4 separate regions of the Homo sapiens genome follow, and regions 1, 3 and 4 are each linked to region 2. Evidence: promoter capture Hi-C in human tissues and cell types (Jung and others, 2019). All regions are on one chromosome and are shown on one strand. Each heading gives the region's core, a stretch centred on a gene start or on the middle of the fragment in contact. The rest is flanking DNA. Distances are from core to core; before and after follow the strand shown.

Region 1 (2,700 bases), core at 76-2,575, 210 kb before region 2:
TACTTGTTCCAAACACGTATCATTTAGGAGGTTTGGATAAACAACAACCTAAAATAAATAAGCACTAAGCAAACTCAGGGCTACATAATCCCTGTGGTGAGATAACTAACAATGGGTACAACTGGGACAGTTTACTGTTAAATCACCTCTATCTACATGTGCCCAAGCAGTGAGATACTTGGTTTTAATCCTAAAAAATCATGGTGCACATTTACTCCTGCCTCCCAACTGGGCTCTAACGTCACCCCCTCAGAGAAGCTTGCTTTTCTGTGCTTCCACTCTACTTTTTTTCAGCATTTAGTAGAGCATCAGTAACCATCCATATCTGGGAACAAAGATTGTAAGCAACAGAAGCCCATTTGCATGAGCTTGAGGACAAGGAGAACACCTTGTCTCTAACAGGCAAACTCATGGGCACAAGAAACAAATGAGAGGCCATGAGAGAATGGAAACTGCAGTTACAGAAACCAAAATTCCTCTTTCTTGCTCTCAGAAGCCCATGGTCTCTTTTTTTTTTTTTTTTGTGAGATGCAGTCTCACTCTGTCGCCCAGGCTGGAGTGCAGTGGTGCAATCTCAGCTCACTGTAAGCTCCACCTGTTGGGGTTCACGCCATTCTCCTGCCTCAGCCTCCCAATTAGCTGAGGCTACAGACACCCACCACCACACCCAGCTAATTTTTGTATTTTTAGTAGAGATGGGGTTTCACTGTGTGAGCCAGGATGGTCTCGATCTCCTGACCTCGTGATCCGACCATCCTAGCCTCTCAAAGTGCTGGGATTACAGGCGTGAACCACCGCACCCGGAAGCCCATGGTCTTTCTTACCAGCCCTGTGGACTTTCTTATCTCTGCTTCTCTCACTCACAACCAATTTTCCCTTTTTGCTGGTGGCCCATCATGGCAGCCAGCAGAGCCCACCACCAGCTGATCAGTCAGTTACTGGATATCTTGGAGAGGGAGGGAGGGAGGGAGGGAAGAGAGGGAGAGGGAGAGAGAGAGAATGACAATTGGGCTTCTGGCCAACCAATTGAGTATAGGGAGGGGAGTACCACGGTACAAATATGGCACCAAGACCTGTTTTCCAGCATGGCCAGTGAGTAGGGAAATTGAGGGAAGGTACCTGCAAACACAGCAGACATCTCAGAACACGCTCTCTGTTCTTAGTTCTCTCTCCTGCCTTCTCCTAGATTGTAAATATCACAAGACAATCTAGGATAGTACCTGGCTCAAAATATTTGAGAAAGAGAAAAAGGAAGGCATTGGATCAAACTGTGGACTTCATGGTTTCCTAAATTCACTCTGCAAGTTTTTGTTTTTTGAGACAGAGTCTCACTCTGCTGCCCAAGCTGGAGTGCAATGGCATAATCTTGGCTCACTGCAACCTCCACCTCCCAGGTTCAAGCAAATCCCCTGCCTCAGCCTCCTGAGTAGCTGGGATTAAAGGCACGCACAGCTACACAAGTTAATTTTTGTATTTTTAGTAGAGACAGGGTTGGCCAGGCTGGTCTCGAACTCTTGACCTCGTGATCCACCCACCTCGGGTGCCCAAAGTGCTGGCATTACAGGCATGAGCCACTGTGCCCGGCCGCACCCAGGTACTTTTTGTATTTTTTGTACAGATGGTGTTTCACCATGTTGATCTAGGCTGGTCTCAAACTCCTGACCTCAGGTGATCCGCCCGCCTTGGCATCCCAAAATACAAGGATTACAGGCATGAGCCACCACACCCTGCCTATTTTCCTTACGTTTCAGAGAACCTTTGTGTCCCCTGGGTGTTCTAGCCCAGTATATGTCAAACTTTGCTGCACCAAGGACCTTGTTGAAATGCAGGTTCTCATCTGGGAGGCTCAGTGGGCCAGCAAATCTGCATTGGTTTAGGAAGCTCACCCTGAGTATCAAGCTTCAGTAAGGACCAGGCAGACCCCTGCCTGCCAACCCCCTCTCAGGTGGGCTTAACTCTGGCTCTCTCCTGCCAGCGTTCCTCCCCTCGAAATAGGAGATATTTTCAAAAATTCTCTTGGAAAAAAAGCCCTGTTTTAAGATTGGGGTGTTCAGGATTGGCCATCTGCTCACCATGGGGTTTTAAGACCTTTGCCCATACCTCTGCAACCAACTTAGAACTGACATCTTTATTTTGAAGGCCCCACTCCACACCATATTAAATTCATTAAAATCAATCCCCATTACAGGCATATCTCAGGCATCATGCCCTCAGAATGGAGTTGCAGCTGATCACTTGACAATGTTGTAAAGCATTAAACATGCATTCAGTTCAGCCTTGCAGTTTACACATTTGGGAGCCAATTGTCTTAGGTCTAAAGCATTCATGCCGAAGCATTTTTATGGGCCCCACACACTATGCTTCCCAGCCTTCATGGCCTCTGCAATGCTGGTTCCTACTGCCCCACCCCTGGGTTCTGGCCGGCTAGCCCATGCCACCTCACTGCTCCCCCATTCAAGTGTGCCTTCGATGTGTGGTTTCCAAACTCATCTACACTTTAGGGTCACCTGGGATTTTTTTAAATCTTCCAAAACCCAGGCCACACCCAAGAACAATTAAACCTCAACCTCTGGAATGGGAAATGGCATCCGTTTTTTGTTTTGTTTTTGAGACAGGTCCTCGCTCTGTTACCCAGGCTGGAGTACAGTGGCACAATCATAGCTCACGACAGCCTCCAACTCCTGGGCTCAAGAAACCCTC
Region 2 (2,700 bases), core at 11-2,510:
CCCAGTGCCGTCCGCATCCCTGGGAGCACACAGTAATATTAAAAGTGGTGACTCCAGCCCAGTGGCAGGGCTGCACTTGCCCAGATGAGGATCGAAACTGGCGCTCAGAGAGGCGCGGGACCTGCTCAACGTCACACAGCAGAGCATGGCGGACACCCGCCACCCCACGTTTAAATGCTGTGCGCAAGGCTGGGGTCATCTGGTCCCCAAGCCCAGGGTCTGGTGGAAGGGCGCAGAACCACGGTGGTCAGTGACCACAGGGGCCGAGGTAGGAAAGGGGGAGGGATTTGGGAATCCGGTCAAGACTCAAGGCAGGAAGGGAGAAGAGCTCTGGACGCTGGGACAAGGAGGTCAAAGGCCTGGGGCTGGAGTCCGACGGAGCCAGAGGGGAAGACAAGACTGGGGGCGGCGCGCGCCACCCAGCGGTATCGGGAGGGAGGACCGGAGGGAGGGCTGGGCCGGACGCTCCTCTCGCGCACCGATCGACCTCGGGTTCCTGGAGGGGCGTCCCCGTGGGATCCCGGCTCCGTACATCCTGGAGCCCCTAGGGGAGGGACGGACCAGTGGGGGCCGGCGGGGCCTCATCAGACACCCCAACGCCAGGACCCAACGGGACCGAGGACGGTCGCCGGGCGCTTCACGGTTCGCGTGGTTTCAGGATCTCGGAGAACACAACCGGCAGGTCCTGCAGCTCCGCGCCCATCTCCCTCCCCGCGGCCACACCCCCGGCCACGGCCCGGCCCTGCCGGAAGCACAGTCCTCCTGGCCACGCCCCCCAGTCCTTCGTAGCAAAAGCTCCGGTCCAGGCCCCGCCCCCAGCCCGCCCCAACCTCGATTGCCTACTAGGCCCCGCCGCCCTTTGGCAGTAACGTCCGAGTCCGGCTCCCGCGCAGGCCCCGCCCCGCCCCGCCCCGCCGCCCTCCGTCCCTCCCATCCGGGGGACTCAACGCGTCCCACCGAGGCCCCGCCTTCAAACAGGCCCCGCCCCCTAACGGACCCCGTCCCACCGAGGACCCGCCTTCAAACAGGCCCCGCCCCCGAACAGACCCAGTCCCACCGAGGCCCCGTCTCCGGGAAGGCCCCGCCCACGAACAGACCCACCCCACTGAGGCCCCCCGACGCCGCTGCCGCTCTGCAGCCCCCCAGGCGGGACGCGTCGCGCGGGCTGCCCCTTCTCCCTCTCAGCTTTCGGAGGGACCCGGGCTGAGCGCCCCGCCCCGCCTCGCCCCGCCTCTTCCCTCGCCCGATCCCGCGCCCTCAGTGTCCCGGCCGCGCAGGACTTGACATGCTGCCCGACTGCCTGTCGGCCGAGGGCGAGCTGCGCTGCCGCCGGCTGCTGGCAGGGGCCACGGCCCGGCTCCGCGCGCGGCCCGCGTCGGCCGCGGTGCTCGTGCCGCTCTGCTCAGTGCGTGGGGTCCCGGCGCTGCTGTACACGCTGCGGTCCAGCCGCCTGACCGGGAGGCACAAGGGCGACGTCAGGTACAGCGGCCGGGAACTCCTCGCCCTTTGCCGGAGGCTACAGGAGCCCGGGGCTGGCAGGGACCTCTGGCAGGGCACTTAGCCCCTTCGAGCCTCGGTTTCCGCCTCCGTAAAATGGGTCTGGGGAGAGTCCCTCCGCCCAAGGGCTGCAGCGAGAGGTCAGCGATCCGTGTCCGTCGGCCCCGGTGCACCTGCCGGGGCGCCACGTCCTCGCCGCGTGGGCCCCTCGTACGCGTCCTTGCGCGCACGCCTGGGCCGGGACACCCCTTTGAGCTGTTTCCCGCTTAGAGGGCGGACGCCGCCCCCTGCCGGCGACTACGGAGAGGTTCGGGCCCCGCCCGGCGGGAATTAAGAACATCCTGAGGACAATGTCAGTGTTGCTGGGGCCACCATAGGCCGAATTTGGGTATCTGAGCCCCAGGATCTTCTTGCCCCTGCTGCAGACCCTCTTATCCTGCGCTGTCCCGGGCCTCTCTTCCTTATCCCCATTGCTCAGGGAGGTAAACTGGCCTCCAGAGGTCGCATGGCTTGCCTGGGGCCTCCCAGTAAACTAGGGGCAGAGGCAGGCGACACTTCGGTGGGCCAGTGGCCCCCCCCGCACTGCCGATACCCCGACCTCTCCGTGGCCCCAAGAGTCCAAGGACCAGACTCCTTGTGTCTGTTTAGTTTCCCAGGCGGCAAGTGCGACCCGGCTGACCAAGATGTGGTGCACACGGCCCTGCGGGAAACCCGGGAGGAGCTGGGCCTGGCAGTGCCCGAGGAGCACGTGTGGGGCCTGCTGCGGCCTGTGTATGATCCGGTAAGCCACTTGGCTGAGGCCACCCCACCCCATTCACTCACTCTGTGCCTGCCCTGGAGCTGGGCTACCAGGGACCAGGAGAGTGGTCATGGACCCCCACGGGCACAAAGTGTGGAAGGGTGCCCCTAACCTGCCTGGTCACATGCACCACCCCACACACCCCCTCGGGAAGGGATTGGGGAGGCTCTGGTGTCCTGAGTAGAGGTGGCCCAGGGCGATGGGGTGGGCCAGCTCCACTCAGTTTGGTGGATTAGGGTCAGGGAAGCTTCATGGGGTAGGCAGGGATTGAACCCAGGCTTGAATGCCAAGTGGGAGATTGTCCTAAGCAGAGGGAACAGGTCTAGTGCATTTGAGGGGACCTGAGTCAGTCAGCATGGCTGGAGGACACAGGCAGGTGGACCCGAACATGACTACCAAAGGCC
Region 3 (2,700 bases), core at 56-2,555, 190 kb before region 2:
TTTTTTTTTTTATACGGAGTCTCACTCTGTCACCCAGGCTGGAGTTCGGTGGCAAGATCTCGGCCCAGAGCACACTTTTAACCACCATATCATTATGCCTCTGGGTAGGTCAGTCAAGCTCTGTAGCTGATCAGATGTCTGTAGAGAGAAGGAGACATCGGTCTCCCCTTCTTCCAAACACCCCCGAATTTTACAAGTGATTTTCTCAGATCCCTCAGCATCAGGAATGGGGATGAGCAGGGCAGCCTGTCCCCTTCCCAACAGCCCAGCAGATATCCGAAGATTACATCTCATTGGCTCTGACTAGGACATGAGCCCAAAGCTGAACCAGTTGCTGTAGCCATGGCATGCAGCATCCTCTGTCCTCTGGCCAGGCCAGAGCCACATCCCACCTCTGGATCCTCGAGTTGAGTGAATACATCTTGAACCAGGCACGGACTGAAGCTCAAGGGGGAGTCAGAGTAATGTGACCCAGCCCAGCATGTAGTGGGTGCTGAGCAGGCAAGCATTCATCACCCACTGCACACACCAGGGAAGGCTTGTGGTGGCTTAGTCCCACCTGGGGGCAAAGGAAAGAGTGCCTGCTCCGTGCCAAAATGTGATGCCCCACACTGTATCTTAAAGCTAGCTGGCTTTGTAATCCCAGCTACTTGGGAGGCTGAGGCAGGAGAATCACTTGAATCCAGGAGGCAGAGGTTGCAGTGAGCCAAGATCACGCCATTGCACTCCAGCCTGGGTGACAAGAAAGAAATTCTCTCTCAAAAAAAAAAAAAAAAAAAGCTAGTCGACTTAATCCTCGCAAAGATGCCATCTACTTTTTGGCATTCTACAGGTAGAAACACTGAGACACTGGAAAATTTAAAAACTCACAACCAGCCGGGTGCAGTGTCTCTTGCGTGTAATCCCAGCAGTTTGAGAGGCTGAGGCAGGAGAATCACTTAAACCCAGGAGTTCAGGACAAGCCTGGGCAAATTAGCGAGACCTCATCTCTACAAAGACTAAAAAAAAAAAAAAAAAAAAAAAAATTAGGGCTAGGCGCGGTGGCTCACACATGTAATCCCAGCACTTTGGGAGGTCAAGGCAGGTGGATCACTTCAGCCCAGGGGTTCGAAACCAGCCTGGCCATCACGACAAAACTCTATCTCAATTAAAAATGCAAAACTTAGCTGAGCATAGTGGCACGTGTCTATAATCCCAGCTACTTGGGAGGCTGAGGCAAAAGAATTGCTTGAACCCAGGAGTCAGAAGTTGCAGTGAGCTGAGATCGTGCCACTGCACTCCAGCCTAGGTGAGAGAGTGACACCGTGTCTCAAAAAAATATATATATATAGGTATGGTGGTACATGCCTGTGGCCCCAGCTACTCAAGAGGCTGAGGTAGGAGGATCGCTTAAGCCCAGGAGTTCAAGGGTGCAATGAGCTATGATTGTACCACTGCACCACTATATATACACATATATATATGTATATGTATATAGGTATGTCTATATATACACATATATATACATGTATATGTATGTATATATATGTGTATATATATAAAAAACACACATGCACAGATTCACCACCAACAACTCAGAAATTACCGTCTCCCTCTATTCTAAGGAATTATTTTTCATTTTGCCATCTCTGAAGTTGTAATACACCTTACAATCACTGGAATGTCACAGTCTCGTTGGCGGCATTTTTCTGCTTAGTAGCCCATAAAATAATAGTACATCTTGTAACTAACAGTGTTGTAGATGCTATGAGATCCTGGGGAATCCCAGAATCTAACTCCACCCTGTCTGACTCCAAAGACCACATATTTTCTATGTCTTTGGACTGGGGCACAGATGTAGACAACTCGAGCTTTGCTGATTGTGAGAAAGGTATGAGAAATGGCCCTGATGGAATTTTCTTATTGTACGTGAAGGGGAAGAAAGCAGCATCATCCCACTATTCCAGGGGAGGTGCTAAATACGAGGGTGAGGCTGTCAAGCGGTCCCTGGTGGAGTCCTACACTCACCAAAATAACAACGAGACAGAGCAGAGGGAGAACATCGATACCGTCATGAACTGCTTCACCAAGGAAGACTTTGACTTTGTGACTCTGTACTACAGACAGCCAGATAACGTAGGACATCGATTCAAGCCAGAGGCAGAGAATAGGAAGTTGATGATTCAGCAACTCGACAGGACCATCTGGTATCTGGTGGGAGCCACTGAGAAGCACAGCCTGCAGAGCACCTCAGGTCATCATCACATGAGACCATGGGATGATGACCGTGAAGAAGAGACCCAATGTCAACAAGATCCCTTGTCCAACTACATCAAGTTCAGGGACTGGGTCAAGTTTGATATTGTGGGCTATGGTGGCTTTGGGCTGCCCCTACCCAAACTGGGGCAAGAAGAAGCCCTTTACCAGGCACTGAAGAATGCGCACCCTCACCTCCACATCTACAAGAAGGAGGAGTTTCCAGAACACTTCCATCTCGCTAAACATGACCGGGTTCTGCCAATCGTGATGTATGCCAACTCTAGTTACAGTATCAATGGGATAAGTTCATTCTAAAATGAATAAAGTCACCTTGGATCTAGGAGACAACCATTAGGGAAGGGTGGTTCTGCAAAAATCAAACATGAGTGCACAGCCAGGCACAGTGGCTCACGCCTATAATCCCAGCACTTTGGGAGGCTGAGGCAGGTATATCACCTGAGG
Region 4 (2,700 bases), core at 41-2,540, 140 kb before region 2:
CCCAGGTAGCATGATCCAGTATAAACCATTTCCATTTTATTATGTTTCTTTCTTTCTTTCTTTCTTTTTCTGAGATGGAGTCTTGCTCTTGTTGCCCAGGCTGGAGTGCAATGATGTGATCTCGGCTCACTGCAACCTCCGCCTCCCAGGTTCAAGCTATTCTCCTGCATCAGCCTACTGAGTAGCTGGGATTACAGGCATCCGCCACCATGCCCGGCTAATTTTTTGTATTTTTAGTAGAGACAGAGTTTCACCATGTTGGCCAGGCTGGTCTTAAACTCCTGATCTCAGGTGATACACCCACCTCGGTCTCCCAAAGTGCTGGGATTACAGGTGTGAGCCACTGCACTCAGCCACCTTCCTCCTTTTAAGGACTCTTGTGATTATATAAACCCCTTCCAGATAATCCAGGATAATCTCCCCCACTCAAAATCCTGAACTTAATCACATCTGCCAAGTCCCTTTTACCATCAATCTCTGGTAACATAATCAGTGGTCCTGGGGATTAAGGTCTGTGGACATCTTTGGGGGCCGTTATTCTGCCTACCACATGGACCATCTTTGACTTTCTTAACTTCCACCCACTTTTCATTTTTTTTTTTTTTTTTTTTGAGATGGAGTTTTGCTCTTGCTGCCCAGGCAGGCGTGTAATGGCGCAATCTCAGCTCACTGCAACCTCTGCCTCCCAGATTCAAGTGATTCACCTGCCTCAGCCTCCCACGTAACTGGGATTACAAGCACCTGCCACCATGCCTGGCTAATTTTGTATTTTTAGCAGAGATGGGGTTTTTCCATGTTAGTCAGCCTGGTCTTGAACTCTCAATCTCAGGTGATCCACCTGCCTCAGCCTCTCGAAGTGCTGGGATTACAAGCATGAGCCACCGCACCAGGCCCCTCCACTCATTTTTCAACCTTTTCCAAACAAGCTTCTGTCCCCACCACCCATTCCATATGGTTTCAAAATGGATCTTGATGGCCTCCGTGTTGCTGAAACTATGGGGTTGTCCTAGCTGTCCTTCTTCCTGAGCTTTTGGCACTGTAGACCAAACAGCTTGAGCCATCGGCAGGTAGCCAGGAGGACCAGAGCATTTGGGTGATGGCTGGTCCTCATGAGCCTGTCCTGCTGTCACCTAGCAGCCCATCCTGGTGGGACTGAGGCTGGCTATGGAAAGCGTTCCGCACCCCCTTGCTCCATGAGTTACCCAGGGCTCCACGTGCCTAGGATTTCTTTATTGTTTAAAAGTGTAGGTCAGATAACTGCAGGTGAAGTTTTCTTAAAAATTTTTGTTCACATATCCAAAGTGGATAACTGGGTGAGCTTTCACAAAGTAAAGCACATGCACGCCATGCAGATCAAGGAACAGGGCATGGCCAGCTTGCCTGAGCGCCTCATTCTCCCCTCCCTAACGCTAGCTCCTCTCCTCCCAAAGGTAATGCTATCCTGGGGATAGGGATTTTTTTTTTCCTTTTAAATAGACTTAATGTGTTAGAGAAGTTCTAGGTTCATAGAAAAATGGAGCAGAGGCCAGGTGCCATGGCTCACACCTGTAATCCCAGCACTCTGAGAGGCTGAGGTGGGCAGATCACGAGGTCAGGAGTTTGAGACCAGACTGACCAACATGATGAAACCCTGTCTCTACTAAAAATACAAAAAATTAGCTGGGCCTGGTGGTGCATGCCTGTAATCCTAGCTACTTGGGAGGCTGAGGCAGGAGAACTGCTTGAACCTGGGAGGTGGAGGTTGCAGTGGGCTGAGATCTTACCTCTGTATTCCAGCCTGGGTGACAAAGAAAGAAGAAAAGAAAGGAGAAAGAAACAGAGAGAGAGATAGAAAGGAGGGAGGGAAGGAAGGAAGGGAAGGAAAAGGAAAGAAAGAGATAAGAAAAGAAAGAAAGAAAAATGGAACAGAAAGTGCAGTTTTCATCAACCTCTACTCCCACCTGCCACACATACACACGTGCAGCTTCCCCCACTAGCAATATCAAACCTGAGTGGGATATTTTTCATAATCAATAAACCTACATTGACACATCACTATCACCTACAGTCCATAGTTTACATGAGGGCTCACTCTTGGTGTTGTACATTGCGTGGGTTTGGACATATGGACAATGACGTGGATCCACCATTGTAGTATCACACAGAGTAGTTTCACTGCCTAAAAATCTTCTGTGTTTCACCAATTCATTCCTCCTTTGTCCTGACCTCTGGAAACCATGGATATTTTCACTGTCTCCATAGTTTTGCTTTATCCAGAATGTCAAATAGTTGGAACTATACAGTGTGCAGCCTTTTCGGATGGGCTTCTTTCACTTAGGAATATGCATTTAAGATTTCTCCATGTCTTTTTGTGGTTTGATAGCTCATTTCATTTTAGTGCTAAATAACATTCCATTGTCTGGATGTGGGCCTAGGCTTGTTTTTTTTGTTTGTTTGTTTGTTTTTGTTTTTGTTTTTCTTTTTTGAGATGGGGTTTTGCTCTGTTTCCCCGGCTGGAGTGCAGTGGCACAATCTCGGCTCACTGCAGCCTCCGCCTCCAGGGTTCAAGCAATTTCCCCACCTCAGCCTCCAGCGTAGCTGGGATTAAAGTGGGGCACCACCACACCCATCTAATTTTTTGCATTTTTAGTAGAGACTGGATTTCACCATGTTGGCCAAGCTGGTCTCAAACTCCTGACCTCAGGTGATCCACCCACCTCA

The links. Contacts are between HindIII fragments. The study calls those that stand out against the background at their distance.
Region 1: a fragment that was not itself captured here is called in contact with the fragment with the promoter of NUDT8 in region 2 in 2 of the 25 tissues and cell types used here (hippocampus and mesendoderm cells).
Region 3: a contact is called between a fragment that was not itself captured here and the fragment with the promoter of NUDT8 in region 2, in 6 of the 25 tissues and cell types used here (dorsolateral prefrontal cortex, heart left ventricle, liver and 3 more).
Region 4: a contact is called between a fragment that was not itself captured here and the fragment with the promoter of NUDT8 in region 2, in 5 of the 25 tissues and cell types used here (IMR-90 fibroblasts, lymphoblastoid cells, mesendoderm cells and 2 more).

Annotation. Positions count from the first base shown.
Region 1 is chr11:67,836,467-67,839,166 of GRCh38, reverse strand. All of the region lies in intron 3 of LOC112268076 (translation initiation factor IF-2-like), which reads left to right. It also overlaps the pseudogene ENPP7P7. Among named protein-coding and RNA genes, the nearest start is that of LINC02754, 47 kb to the left of the region's middle. The HindIII fragment of the contact is 3,364 bases long and covers 1-2,700 here.
Region 2 is chr11:67,628,497-67,631,196 of GRCh38, reverse strand. It overlaps NUDT8 (nudix hydrolase 8), which reads left to right and starts at 1,260. Exons shown (of 4, transcript NM_001243750.2): 1 at 1,260-1,479; 2 at 2,146-2,278. The coding sequence starts at 1,286. RefSeq lists silencers at 338-507, 628-1,417, 1,708-1,857, 2,425-2,700. The HindIII fragment of the contact is 11,433 bases long and covers 1-2,700 here.
Region 3 is chr11:67,819,739-67,822,438 of GRCh38, reverse strand. The region is part of intron 3 of LOC112268076 (translation initiation factor IF-2-like); the gene reads left to right. It also overlaps the pseudogene ENPP7P7. Among named protein-coding and RNA genes, the nearest start is that of LINC02754, 63 kb to the left of the region's middle. The HindIII fragment of the contact is 6,215 bases long and covers 1-2,700 here.
Region 4 is chr11:67,766,561-67,769,260 of GRCh38, reverse strand. No RefSeq gene overlaps it. Among named protein-coding and RNA genes, the nearest start is that of ALDH3B2, 93 kb to the right of the region's middle. The HindIII fragment of the contact is 3,973 bases long and covers 1-2,700 here.